4 separate regions of the Homo sapiens genome follow, and regions 2, 3 and 4 are each linked to region 1. Evidence: promoter capture Hi-C in 16 types of primary human blood cells and fetal thymus (Javierre and others, 2016). All regions are on one chromosome and are shown on one strand. The core of a region is centred on a gene start or on the middle of the fragment in contact, and the rest is flanking DNA. Distances in the headings are between cores, read along the strand shown.

Region 1 (3,280 bases), core at 567-3,066:
CTGCAGAGGTTGGTTGCTTTTATGAGCATTTGACTTCTGTCAAAAGTAAACAGTAAGGCTTTAAACTGGGGAAAGGAAAGAACAGGGTATGCATTTCTGAGCCATCTTTTTTTGGTTGCTGCGTGAAGGACTGGAGGTAACCAGAGGCAAGAAGACTAATGAGAAGGCTGTTGCAGGGATCTCCAGGGATCCTGAAGAGAGAAAATATGTTGACCTAGATTGGAAATATGGATGGGAGGATGAGAAAGTATATGGATTCCTGAGATATTTGACGGTGTCAGGCATAGTTTTTGGAACTTCATCCAGGAGGAGACAGGGAGGAATCAAGAATGGCACTGAGATTTTTGGCTTAGGCAAGAGAGTGGATGCTGAAGCCATTCCTTGAGATAGCCAATACTGGGAAGGAAGTCTGGAGCTGAAAAAGATGAACTCAGTATGGATAGGCTGAATTTGAGGTAGCTTTGGGACATTAATGCAACTGGAATGACTATTATGTAGTTAAATTATCACATTACTCTAAGTGTTCAATCCTTATATAACCACTGCTGAAATAACAAATTCCAAATTTCTTTTTTTGTGTGTGTTTCTTTTTCTGTTTTTTTGAGACGGAGTTTCGCTCTTGTTGCAATGGCGCGATCTCGGCTCACTGCAACCTCTGTCTCCCAGGTTCAAGCGATTCTCCTGCCTTAGCCTCCCAAGTAGCTGGGATTACAGGAGCCTGCCACCACACCTGGATCATTTTTTTTATTTTTGGTAGAAACGGGGTTTCACTATGTTGGCCAGGCTAGTCTCAAACTCCTGACCTCAGGCGATCTGCCCGCCTCGGCCTCCCAAAATGCTGGGGTTAAAGGCGTGAGCCACTGCGCCCGGCTGTGTGTTTGTTTCTTAGAGATACGGTCTCACTATATTGCCCAGGCTGGTTTCCAACTCATGAGCTCAAGGGACCCTCCTGTCTCGGCCTCCCACAGTGCTGGGATTACAGGCATGCCTGGCCACGCCCAGTCATTTTCCAAATTTCTTAACAAGACTTACAATTTACCTTTTCCAGCTTTACTTCTCCCACCTATCCATACCCACAGTTGCCCAGCCCAAATTCATTTGGGTTCCTCAAAGGGTTAATGCTTTGTGTAGTCTCAAGGACTATGGGCCAGCAGTTCTGTCAGGAACTATTCTATTCTCTTTTCTGTGCATTCAGCAAAGAATTAGAAAAATTAGCTGGGCGTGATGGTGCGAGACTGTAGTCTTGGCTACTCGGGAGGCTGAGGTGAGAGGATCTCCTGACATCAGGAGTTGGAGGCTGCAGAGCCATGATCGCGCCACTGCACTCCAGCCTGGGTAACAGAGGAAGACCTTGTCTCAACAAAACAAAAGATGTTAGTGAGGGCCCAGGTAGGTGCTAGGTGCTGGGATAACATGGTGAGCAAAAAGAAGACTTTATCCCTTCCCTTGCCTCATTATAGTATAATGGCAGATTTAAATACTAATCTAATAATTACACAAGAAAGAATTGCAAATGAGATCAGAGCTGCCAATCGAAGGCACCCAGTGGGAAAGACGGCCTACAATGGGATTTTCGCATAGCGAAAGCTTGTCTGAGAAGATAGAGTGGATTCATAGGGGGAGGAAAAAGCTTTCTAGGCTGGGAGAACACCCCTGTGGAGGGGTGTAACTTGGCGCATTACGAGGAACTAGAGAAACGTGCACTTTTCCTAAGACATCAGGAAAGGAGCGAGGAGAGACTTATCCATTTTGTCCCATAGCAGCCGCCATATGGTGGCAGACAGCAACAACCTCGTCGCACTGATTACTGGGAGCTGTAGTCTTGACGTGAGCTAGCTGGCATGGCGGCCTGCATTGCAGCGGGGCACTGGGCTGCAATGGGCCTAGGCCGGAGTTTCCAAGCCGCCAGGACTCTGCTCCCCCCGCCGGCCTCTATCGCCTGCAGTAAGTGGAGCCGGACTTGCGAGCTGGGGCGCGTTAGGGGCCCAGGGTCAGGATGGGGGAGGCGAACCTGGAGATCAGAGGCAACCCCAGCGTTGGTCCCCCGTGGGACGCCGGGTTGGGGGAGATTGCGGGGCTCTGCGGGATCTCAGGGTTGGCACGAGAGTTCTGACCTCCGTCGTCCGCTCCCGCAGGGGTCCACGCGGGGCCTGTCCGGCAGCAGAGCACTGGGCCTTCCGAGCCCGGTGCGTTCCAACCGCCGCCGAAACCGGTCATCGTGGACAAGCACCGCCCCGTGGAACCGGAACGCAGGTGAGGCACTGCCCTGGCGCTAGGCCGGCAACTGGGGTCGGTGCGCGCGTGAGCGCGTTCGCGTTCGAGGTCCCGGCTCTAAGGTGGGGGCTGCACCTCCCCCTGCACGAGCAGGTGTGTAGGATTCAAGAGCCAGCGCACCACACTGTTCTTTCTTTCTCACTTCTCCCCAAGCCAGCATTGAACTTCTTTGCAGTTTTATTGAGTCAGAACTTCAAGTAGGGGTTCCCCATATTTTAAACTCTTTTCTCTGTGGTATTTGTCCTGTACCAGAGTTTTTCTCTGAGGTATATCCTGTTTATACCTGTTTACGTCCAAGAGCTCTTCTTTTCTCTCAAAAGACCCTTAACCCTGGATAGGAATCGATTGGCCAACTTAAAAAATTTGCTATGGTTTAGGTTGGAAGTTTTGGCAGACAAAGCACAGTAAAACTGGCCACTAAATTGTGTCTGAAACTTACTCATCAAAATAGTGTGAATAAAAACTTATATGAATGGTGGTAATCTTGGAGGTACATGTAAATTTAAAGGACTTAAGGTCTGAAAAGAGAGCTATGTAGCAACCTTTTTAAAAAGCCAGTTTTCAGAGGAAAAACCTGATATGATTATAGGCTTTTTGAAAGGGCTGTAGATTATTGATTGGATTACTTCTGGGATTTTTAATTTTTTTATTTTTTAAATTTTTTTTAGACAGAGTCTCTCTCAGTCTCCCAGGCTGGAGTGCAGTGGTGATTTTAGCTCACTGCAGCCTCAAATTTCTGGGCTCAAGTGATCCTCCCGCCTCAGGCTCCAGAGTAGCTGGAACTACTGGTACCACGCCTGGCTTTTTTTTTTCTTTTCTTTTTTTAACATTTAAAATATTCCACGGATTTAAATAGAAGTAAACTTGGAGTTAGAGAACTAAGAGATTCAGAAAATATTTCTTCATAAAACTTTGCTTTTGAGGGTAGAAATGGAATATCTCTTTTAAACAGTGGCATTTAATAGAATTCACTTAAATAGGAATGTAAATTATATGCTCTAGAGAA
Region 2 (3,280 bases), core at 269-2,768, 4.2 Mb after region 1:
TTTTACATAATATAACTTTCTTGCACTGATTTTTTTGGCTCTTAGTTCATTTCCGTTCCCATCAGTATGATTGTTAAATCCCTAGTCATTTATGCAGATATTATATATTTTGAATATTCTTAAACAAAATTCTACAAAGTCTAGGATTTTTCTAACTTAGGTTAATCTGTTTGTGCTTAATTGGGCTCCTACTATGTGCTTAGCATGCTCTTTTTACTTCTTAAAAAAGAAAAAAACAACTTTTTGATACTTTTTTGAAAAGTGGAGACAAACTTTTCCATCTTTAGGGCATAGTATCAGTAACTGATGCTTAGTGGGAACCAGAAATCCTCACCTGTTCATCGTATCTTCTCCCAGTGGAGTACCTTCCAAATTTATTTCTTCTTTTTCAATGGCAAATTAAACTCATCAAAACTGCCTTTTCAATTCTTTCTAACTGGAAACAAGCAGGAGCGTTCCAGCATTCTTTATCCTACACTGACATCTGGTGGCCAAACAAAGCATTAAGAAACACTCCTGTGGGTTCTTAGATCCCTGTAAACATACTACAATTTATATATGTAATACGGGCTCAAACCCAAGGGATGCAAATATGGACAGTGTGTAGTCATCCGTCAAAAAGTGTTTAGTCTACCTATGACAACCTTCTGAACACTAATGTTATGCAATGCAAGTCCAGCTAATTCTTAAAACCATCCCTACCTCTGGGATGGTGATAAAGATAGATGCAATACATGTGAGCTTATAGGAAGAGGAGTGCAAGGTAGGGTGGTGAGTCAAGGCTGGTTCTGCTGGGTGCTTGGGGACCAGGTTAGGCATCATCGTAGACAACATAGTCTTCACTGCTTCCTGAGCTATACCGCTTCACTTTCCAGAATCCATCTTTTCTGCCCAGAAATCTCTTTCCGGGTTATTGACACCTCTTGTATAGGTTATCGATACCTCTGATATTGCTTCTAAACAGCTTTTCTTTCCTAAGGTTTTATAAATCTAGGAGTATTTTCTGATAGAATCATTTACCTTTCAATTTTTTTACTTGCTTTAAGAAATATTCCAAAACAATTTACTTTTCTCTTGCGCATTTCAATCACTAAAGATCTCTAAAAATTGTTGAGCAAATAAAAGAATGAAATTTGAAGTACTTTTTTTTATAATTGCAATTTATATCTTGATTTTTTGGCCCCCTATCAGGTTTAATCAAAATTATTATATTTCCAATCTTGGGTTATTTCTTGAGGCAGCGAAAAATGTAAGAATCTGTTTTCTTCCTAGTGTGACTGATTTTTGCTTTTGAGAATATTGACAGATTCTTTAGGTCTGATTTCACCTTTATTTCAAGTTAGTACCAAATATAATAATGAATACTGATGTAATTGATTATGATATTCAAAATTGTCTAACATGTGATGGCAAGTATAATTTTGATTGTCACTTATCTATTAGTTATACTTTTTCAAATTTCGGACCCAAATAAGGCCACTTATCTAGTGAACTCTTTATTAGAGCAACATGTGGTTTATTTAAAATGTTTGATTTTTTAATCTTTAAATACATTTAATACTTTAGTCTTTCTGTGTGATTTCTTATGTTAGTACTGCTAATCTTTACTTCTCCCTCCAGGATTATGACTTCTCGTGTGCTTCCTATGTTACAGTGCTGGGAACGTGATAGGGAGTTACTTAAATGTTCTAAGATTTAGTTTGATTCAGTGGTGAAGTAAACCACACACAAACACACACACACACGTGCAACAACTGCACGTGAAGCATCCATTTGGATTTTTCAACCATACTGCTCAACGTATTTCCTGAACTTCTTTTCCAGCAGAATATTATGGAAACTTCACTATAACCTATTGAGTCCCATTCTTTATTTCCCCAAATGTTCTCTGATACTGTCTTTTTTTCTGATTGTATAAATTCATTGAGCTAAGGCTGTAGAAAAACAATTACTCATATGCACGTATGATTAGCAGGCACCCAACATAACTGAGAACATAAATAGTCGGTTGTGGTTTGACCTGGTTACATTGGCCATGCTAAACAATGGTGGGACAGCATCTCATAGGGCAGAGAACAGGCTTGTGTTTGAATCTTACCAAATAACTCTTCCCTCTGTGCCTCTGTTTCTTCATCTATAAAATGAGATAATAATGTTGACTCCAAGTTGGTGGTAGTTTTGTGGGATGAACATTTATATGTGTCTAATCTATAGTAGGCACTCATAAATACTAGTTTTCTTCTTCTCCTACCCATCTTAATAGACGTGTTGGCCAGACATCTTTCATCCAGATTCAGCTGTGAAGCTATTCCCTAGAAAAACCCTGGGAAAAAGCTCCTGACTGAAAAGTTGTTATGCCACTGGAGAGTAGCTATTGATATTATAATGTCATTTGCTCTCCCTTGCCTATAGCCAAACCCTAATGCATAACAGACTCCAAAGAAGGTCTGGCCAAAGCATAAAGCAGTCTTGAGAGGCTGGCCATTCTATGTGACAGGAGAAATTCCAAACAGATTAAATTACCTCTTGGTGTAAGAGTGATTCTTAACGTGAGACCTAACAAGTCCAGTGTGAATACTAAGAATGTAAGTTTCTCCATTGTGTCTATTTGGGAATTCTTATTGCTTAACCAGCTTCTGATGCTGTGAATGCCATTTTTAGTTTCACATTAAATATGAGATTTCTTCTGCTTTGTTGGTCTCTGAAGATTGCTCAGCGAGCACCTGGAATAAAGAGGAGCGAATGGCAGAAAGCGGGTAGGGATAAAGGGAGAAAAGATGACATAGACTGTGGTCCCTGATGAATCCAGGAACCACAGCCTGAAGCAGTTTATCGTATTTTAAACATGTTCTGTCCAAAAGATGCTGCCAAATAATCATGCAATCTAAGAATGTGCATGGTATGCAAATGCAGTTTGAAGACAGGTCCTGTCTCCCTCCCAACCAGATTGTCTCTTCCCCAAGTGTCCTGTGAAGGAGTTTGAAACTGACACTGCTTGTTTTCCAGGTTTAGTACTTTCCTCACTTTAGCAGATCCTATGAAAGGACCAGGAAAACATTATTTCTCCATCCATCTGTTTGAAAATCTCTTGCTGTTATCATCTACAACCTTAATCATGCTTCTTAAGCTTATTTGGGACACTGAGGTCTACACTGGTGATCGTCTGGATATTATTTTCTTTTCCTTTCTTCTCTTAGTTTTGGCATCTGTTTAAAAAGTTTTAAGATAATCTTTCACAAGTACACAGCATATAAAATATGTTGTCTCAGTTTGTTTGGGC
Region 3 (3,280 bases), core at 346-2,845, 3.4 Mb after region 1:
CTTTGGGAGCAGCGTGCAATGTCTTATTTTCTCTTCACTGCATCACTGAATCTTCTTTTTTTTTTTTTTCTTGAGACAGGGTCTCACTCTGTTGCCCAGGCTACAGTGTTGTGGCATGATCTTAACTCACTGCAACCTCTGCCTCCCAGGCTCAGGTGATCCTCCTACCTCAGCCTCCCTAGTAGCTGGGATCATGAGCATGGGCACCACACCTGGCTATTTTTGTATTTTTTGTAGAGATGGGGTTTTGCATGGTCTCAAACTTTTCTGCTAGTCTTGAACTCCTGGACCCAAGTGATCCACCCGCCTCAGCCTCCCAAAGTGCTGGGATTACACCGTGAGGCACCATGCCAGCCCTCACTGCATCTTCTAATCCTTCCTAAGGTTTTGACTCCACCTACAGCTTCTTTCCTTGGATATGGTAGTTCACACATCCTAGTTGAAAACAAATCATGGAAATTTGCCAAGAGTAGATTTCAGGTGCTTTCAACAGACACCAAAAGGTAACTCTGTGGGAAGACGGCTATGTTAATTTGTTTGACTGTGATAAGCACTTCGTTAGGTCTATGTATACCAAAACATTATGTTGTACACCTTAAATACTACAATTTAAACATTTTAAAACAATAAAATAAAGAGAAAGCTTGCCCTATTCTTCAGGCTTGAGGTGCTTGAGAATAACACCTGGCAGATACAGCCACCTTGGAATAAGAGGAGAGACACTGGCTACACTACAGGGAAGGGGATAGACATCAGGAGCAGGTACGCAGCATGATAAAACACACAGCTGCGCACACACACATCCTCCTCACTCACTTGCAGAAGCCCCAAATGCTTTCAGAGTTGGGGCCAACTTCCTTTCTTGGAAAACATGACACTTGGCATTCAAATGCATGTGGGAGATGAGATGTGTCCAGCAGGCAAGAGTGAGGCAGGAGCATAAAGACACAGCACTCTCCAGGTGACCTGAGGTCTACCTCATCTCTGTTTTCTTCTGTCCTGGCCCCTTCACTGCTCTGAGAATCAATATCCTCATCCTAAAAGGGAGATCTAGACTAGACCAGTGGGTAGAATACTTTTTCCATAAAGGGCCAGATACTAATATTTTAGACCACACGCCATATCGTCCCTGTTGCAACTACTCAACTCTGTGGCAGCAAAAAAGCAGCTACAGACAATACGTAATAAAAGGAGGGAGGCTGTGTTTGCAGCTCGTAGGTTGCCATGCTCTGAGCTCCACATTCTCTTGGTTCAGAAGTTCAGCCATTATAGCCCAGGGTTCAAATTGAGGCCCAACAGACCTTGTTGGTCTTCAGTTCTGTGAGCTCAGTCCTCTTGATCTATTTTCTGCTCTGATAACCTGTCTGGACCCAGATTTCGTGCCAAGAATGGGAGCTTGCCATCATCCTGCTAGGCTCCCCAGACTAATTGGAAGCCAAGTCACTGTAACTTACTGATGCCATCACTGTATTCCCGATGCCATCAGCAAGTAGAATTGATAGCAACACCCTGTTCACACTAGACGTGCCTCCACCCTGAATCCAAGTCCATCTTGCTCCTACCCCCATCAGGGCAGCTGGGACCATTTGCTGCTGTCTTGGTTCCTCTGTGTGGAAGGAAAGTCTGACCTATACTGCACAGCCTCAGCTTCAATTGCCCAAACCTGACCATCTCTCAGTACTGCCGTTGTTCTGTCTCCCAATCTCTGACCTGCCACCACCACAGGGCTTGATTCTAGATCTTGGATCCTTCTCTTTCCCCTGTCCTGTGTAAGTCATGAGACCTTGTTCAGCAAAGTTTTCTGTCAATTATCAGATGGACAGAGATTCAGGTACATGAAGGAAAACAGGGATCTCAGATTTAGAAGTGGAAAGAAGTCTTCAGCCCACTTCATAGAAGTATTGCACAAGGTCAGAATCAGACTGAGTCCAGATGATACTCCTCTAATAAACTTGACCTTGTGAATCATTACTTGGAAAACATCAGTAAAGCAGGGTGGCACAGAAATCTAAGCTAGCATTAAAATCAGAAAAGGGCTGGGTTATGGTGGCTTACACCTGTAATCCCTAATTTTTACTTCTGAGAAATGCAGGATTCTATCTGAACTGGGCTATTTTTTTTTTCTGAAGTCTCTTATATTCTCTTTTTTATTTGAATTGACTTAATCTCCAACCAAATTATAAAAAAGGTGAACATGTATAACCCCAAATCTCAATCCCAGATCTGTCTTAAGTCTACATGTTATCCCAGCACTTTGGGAGGCTGAGGTGGGTGGATCACCTGAGGTCAGGAGTTCGAGACCAGCCTGGCCAACATGGTGAAACCACGTCTCTACTAAAAATACAAAAATTAGCCGGGCTTGGTGGCATGTGCCTGTAATCCCAGCTACTTGGAAGGCTGAGGCAGGAGAATCTCTTGAACTCGGGAGGCGGAGGCTTCAGTGAGCCGATATCAGGCCATTGCACTCCAGCCTGGGTGACAGAGTGAGACTCCTTCTCAAAAAATAAAAATAAAATAAAAAATCAGAAAGTAAAGTCCTAGGCCTGCACAAGCTTTATGACAGGCTTATAGCACCCTCTTGTGTTTACTTCTGAGAAATGCAGGATTCTATCTGGACTGGGCTTTTTTTTTTTTTCCAGAAATCTCTTATATTCTCATTTTTACTTGAACTGACTTAATCTCCAACCAAATTACAAAGAAGGCAAACATGTATAATCCCAAATCTCAATCCCAGATCTGTCTTAAGTCTACATGTTATCTCATTCCATTTTCAAAATATCCCTCTGAAGGAGGTCAGGTAGGTTCTGACTCTCTTGGGAGCAGGTGGAAGCAGAGACTGAAAGTCTTGCCCAAGATCACAAAAAGGATCCACAGCAGAACAGCCTGTGCCATCACCCAGGGCTCCTGGCTGCAACAGGCCTAATATTCTTAAATGGTTATTTCACAGGACTTCTCAGGTTGAGCAGGTTTCCATCTCTGCGAGGGTCAGGTCATCACCAAAGCACACAGGGGTCAGTTGTGTCACAGAGTGTGGGGAAATAGGGCAAGAAGTAGGAAGCCAGTGTCAGAAACAAGGATGGGCTACAACTGGGTGCCAGGCAGGCAGACTATTGAATCCTTGCTCTCCTGCCTTTCTTACCAGTGCTGTGTAGCTAAGTAGCAGTGTCCTCCAGGGGACAGAAGCAGGGCGGTGCCAACACCTGTGCTCTATGCAGTTGAAGGGCCAGGAGTGTGGATCAGGGATCCCACACCAGGAAGGCGAGTAGCCTGCAACCATGTG
Region 4 (3,280 bases), core at 521-3,020, 3.3 Mb after region 1:
GCAACAGTTTGAGAAATATTGGTAGTAATTCTTAAATATTTGGTAGAATTCACCAGTAAAGTAATTTAATATTGGACTTTTCTCTCTTGAAAGGTTTTGGTTATTAATTCAGTCTTTTTAGTAGTTTTAGGTCTATGTCTATTTAGCTTTTCTATTTTTTCATGATTCAGTCTCAGTAGGTTGTATGTTTCTAGGAATTTGTCCATTTCATCTAAATTATTCAATTTGGGTGTACAATTATTCATAGTACACTCTTAAGATTATTTTTATATTTCTGTAAAATCATCCCCTCTTTCATTCCTGATTGTAATTCAAATCTTCTTTCCTCTTAGACAATCTAGCTAAAGTTTATCAAATGTGTTGATCTTTTCAAAGAACCAGCTCTTGGTTTTGTTGATGTTCCCTATTGTTTCTCTATTTTCCATTTTTATTTATTCTCTCTAATCTTTGTTATCTTGAAAATATGTTTGTATAATATAAAATTATATCTCAATATAATTCATTTTTAAAGTTAAGAAATTACCACGTTGTCATTCAATAACTGTACCTAGCTCAGGTTTTGTAAAATACTGTGTGTGAGTGCGTGAGCGAATGAATGAAAGAACAAGTGAGTGAGCAACTGGCCTGCCATTAAAAAATAGGACCGTTTCTCCCTCTCTTCTCAATGGCAAGCCGTTTTCAAGTGGCCTTGCCTCATTGGTTAATATAACTGTTATTGTTTTATATTAAGCAACTATTAAATGGCATGTACTACTCTAGATGCTTCACAAACTTAACATTCCCTCATCCAATCCTCTTTAACGCTGATGTTATTATCCTCACTTTGCACATAGGCAGAAAAATGAGATCTGATGTGATATGTAAGCTCAAGTGACTAATGTATGCCAGTATCAAGAATCAAATTCACTCCTGTCTGATTCTAAAGCTATATATTTTTCCATTCTACCTTTTCTGATTTTGGTATTTCAAGGAATAAAATACCTAGTATATGACTTAGTCTCAGGATTTAGAGAGATAGATACAGGTTACTTTTTGTGATGCAGATTTATGACAAGATTCCCAGAAATGTAGTATAACACATAAGTGTGACCTTATGAGCAGAAAAATCACCTTAGTTTCACTAGTCCACCCTGTTTGGGAACTAGGAAACTTTCAGTGTTACTCAACACAGTAAATTAACCACCGATGGCCCACTTCCTCTTTCTTTACCTAGAAAAAATACTTCCTCAAAAAGAGACTTCTACTGTGCGTGATGATGGTTGCCATTCAACATGCAATTCCTTTGTTGGGAGGAGTTAGCTCTAAGCTACTCCATTGGTGACTGAATTTTAACACGCCAGTCCACATATGACTGCCTATATAATCTAAGTCACTCTGGTTTTGCTATCCCAGGATCCACCTTCTACACAGTGCACACTGCATGAATTATAGAAACTAGACTATGGGAAAGTTGACAGTTGCTTCATTTCTCCAGAAAAGCCACATGCCTGCAGCTGTCAAGGGTAGCCCGACCAATGTACCAGGTCACTAGTTCAACACTTGTGGAGAGTTGAGGGCACTGATCCCCATTCTAAAAGATTCTCAACATAGAGAACTAGAAAATATCAGTCTTAAGAGAGTATTATCAATGTTCCCTGAAGGGATTCATTCTATTTTTGTAAACCCCAACTGGTTTCTTAAATATTTAATCCATCATGCAATCAGAATAGTTGTAATCACCTATCATCAAACTGGAAGAAAATATTATTTTTTACACAAAGAGATCATTGTTTCTTAAAAGCAGTAAATGATACATGCCTGATAAGCAAAAATAATACATTTGTTCAGAGGATTAAGCACTTTGAGATGGATTGTTCAGAGAAAGTTTTGTGGGAAGATTCCAATGTAAAATGGGACTGGGGAAAGCACAACATGAAAGGCAGAGTAGTATTTACAAAGACAAAGGAGGAGCCAACCTTTGATGCTGGTCCTCTAATCCTTACACATTCCTCCCTGCTCAGGGCTTAAAGACTTCTAAAAACTGACTCTTGCTTCTCTCTGCAAGTGTGAGACACAAATTTCTACCACCATTTACTAGCCAAGTGATTCAGGCAACTCATGCAACCCCTCTGCACTTCAGGTGATGAATATATGAAAAGATAATCACATCTGCTAGCAGCTGGGGATTGAAGGACTGTGCGTACAAAAGAAAAAAGCACAGTGCCTGGAATACAGAAACCAGTCAACAAAAGCATTTCCTTTCCCTTGACCTGTTCAGAACTTTTTTTTTCTTTTTTCTTTTTTTTTTTTTTTTGAGATGGAGTCTCTCTTTCTCACCCAGGCTGGAGTGTAGTGGCGTGATCTCAGCTCACTGCAACCTCCGCCTCTGGTGTTCAAGTGATTCTCCTGCCTCAGCGTCCTGAGTAGCTGGGATTACAGGCACCCGCCACCAAGCCAGGCTAATTTTGTATTTTTAGTAGAGATAGGGTTTCACCGTTTTGGCCAGGCTGGTCTCGAACTCCTGACTGCAGGTGATCTGCCTGCCTCAGCCTCCCAAAGTGCTGGGATTACAGGCGTGAGCCACCGTGCCCGGCCGAACTTTTCTTTGCCTAATACCAATGCATTGTAAACGTATGGGAAAAAAGATTAATTGGGTTGCAAGGAGACTTGAGTGCTAGTCTTGCCTTTACCACATAATGAGCTGGGTGGTCTGGGGTGGATAATTTTGGTTTGCCATTGTTGCTTTCTCTTTGAAATGAAGAGGATAGCCAGGAACTCCAAGATTCCTTCCAGCTTATTCATTCATGTCTTTGCATTGCTGAGCATCACCCCAGGGATGTTTTATCATCTCAGGCAGTGAGGAATTGGGATCCCTTGTGTTCCCCTAGCACCCTTTCTATTAACCCGAGAGTGTGCTGGAGGATACTGCTTTTCTGGAGAGCACACACTTCATATTGGGCGACTGTGACACAGGCATCTGAGTGGTCTCTGGCAGGACTTTGCAATATCCGCCCTGGGAAATGGCAAGGGCACCCGAGGACCTGTGAGCTGGCAGGGCCGTGTCACCCCAAAAGACAAGGACTCTGAGAGGAGGTACTTCACCAACACTCTACAGCTGTGTGAAGAAAAAAAGAAAATGGTTGATGAATTTCCACTTTCCACAGAGTAAAGAAATATTTTTATGTTATTTGTTTCCAGCCTGAGCGGGGGGCTTTTCATGCATGACCAAGGAACTCTCCTCCCACAGGTGGGGATACACTGCCACCTGCTGGTCCTCTGCTTCTTTACACAAAGGAACACC

What was found. The method cuts DNA at HindIII sites, captures the fragments that hold promoters and counts their contacts. A CHiCAGO score of 5 or more calls a contact.
Region 2: a contact is called between a fragment that was not itself captured here and the fragment with the promoter of MRPL19 in region 1, in 5 of 17 cell types (total CD4 T cells, total B cells, naive B cells and 2 more). The highest score is 9.9, in total CD4 T cells.
Region 3: a fragment that was not itself captured here is called in contact with the fragment with the promoter of MRPL19 in region 1 in 1 of 17 cell types (M2 macrophages); the score reaches 8.2 in M2 macrophages.
Region 4: a contact is called between a fragment that was not itself captured here and the fragment with the promoter of MRPL19 in region 1, in 2 of 17 cell types (M2 macrophages and naive B cells). The highest score is 9.3, in M2 macrophages.

The regions. Positions count from the first base shown.
Region 1 is chr2:75,644,967-75,648,246 of GRCh38, forward strand. MRPL19 (mitochondrial ribosomal protein L19) reads left to right here and starts at 1,817. Exons shown (of 6, transcript NM_014763.4): 1 at 1,817-1,944; 2 at 2,136-2,253. The coding sequence starts at 1,842. RefSeq lists enhancers at 1,617-1,911, 1,747-2,046. The HindIII fragment of the contact is 2,636 bases long and covers 1,629-3,280 here.
Region 2 is chr2:79,887,455-79,890,734 of GRCh38, forward strand. The region is part of intron 6 of CTNNA2 (catenin alpha 2); the gene reads left to right. Among named protein-coding and RNA genes, the nearest start is that of MIR8080, 23 kb to the left of the region's middle. The HindIII fragment of the contact is 3,213 bases long and covers 1-3,125 here.
Region 3 is chr2:78,997,041-79,000,320 of GRCh38, forward strand. No RefSeq gene overlaps it. Among named protein-coding and RNA genes, the nearest start is that of REG3G, 27 kb to the right of the region's middle. The HindIII fragment of the contact is 1,909 bases long and covers 642-2,550 here.
Region 4 is chr2:78,976,585-78,979,864 of GRCh38, forward strand. No RefSeq gene overlaps it. Among named protein-coding and RNA genes, the nearest start is that of REG3G, 47 kb to the right of the region's middle. The HindIII fragment of the contact is 3,634 bases long and covers 1-3,280 here.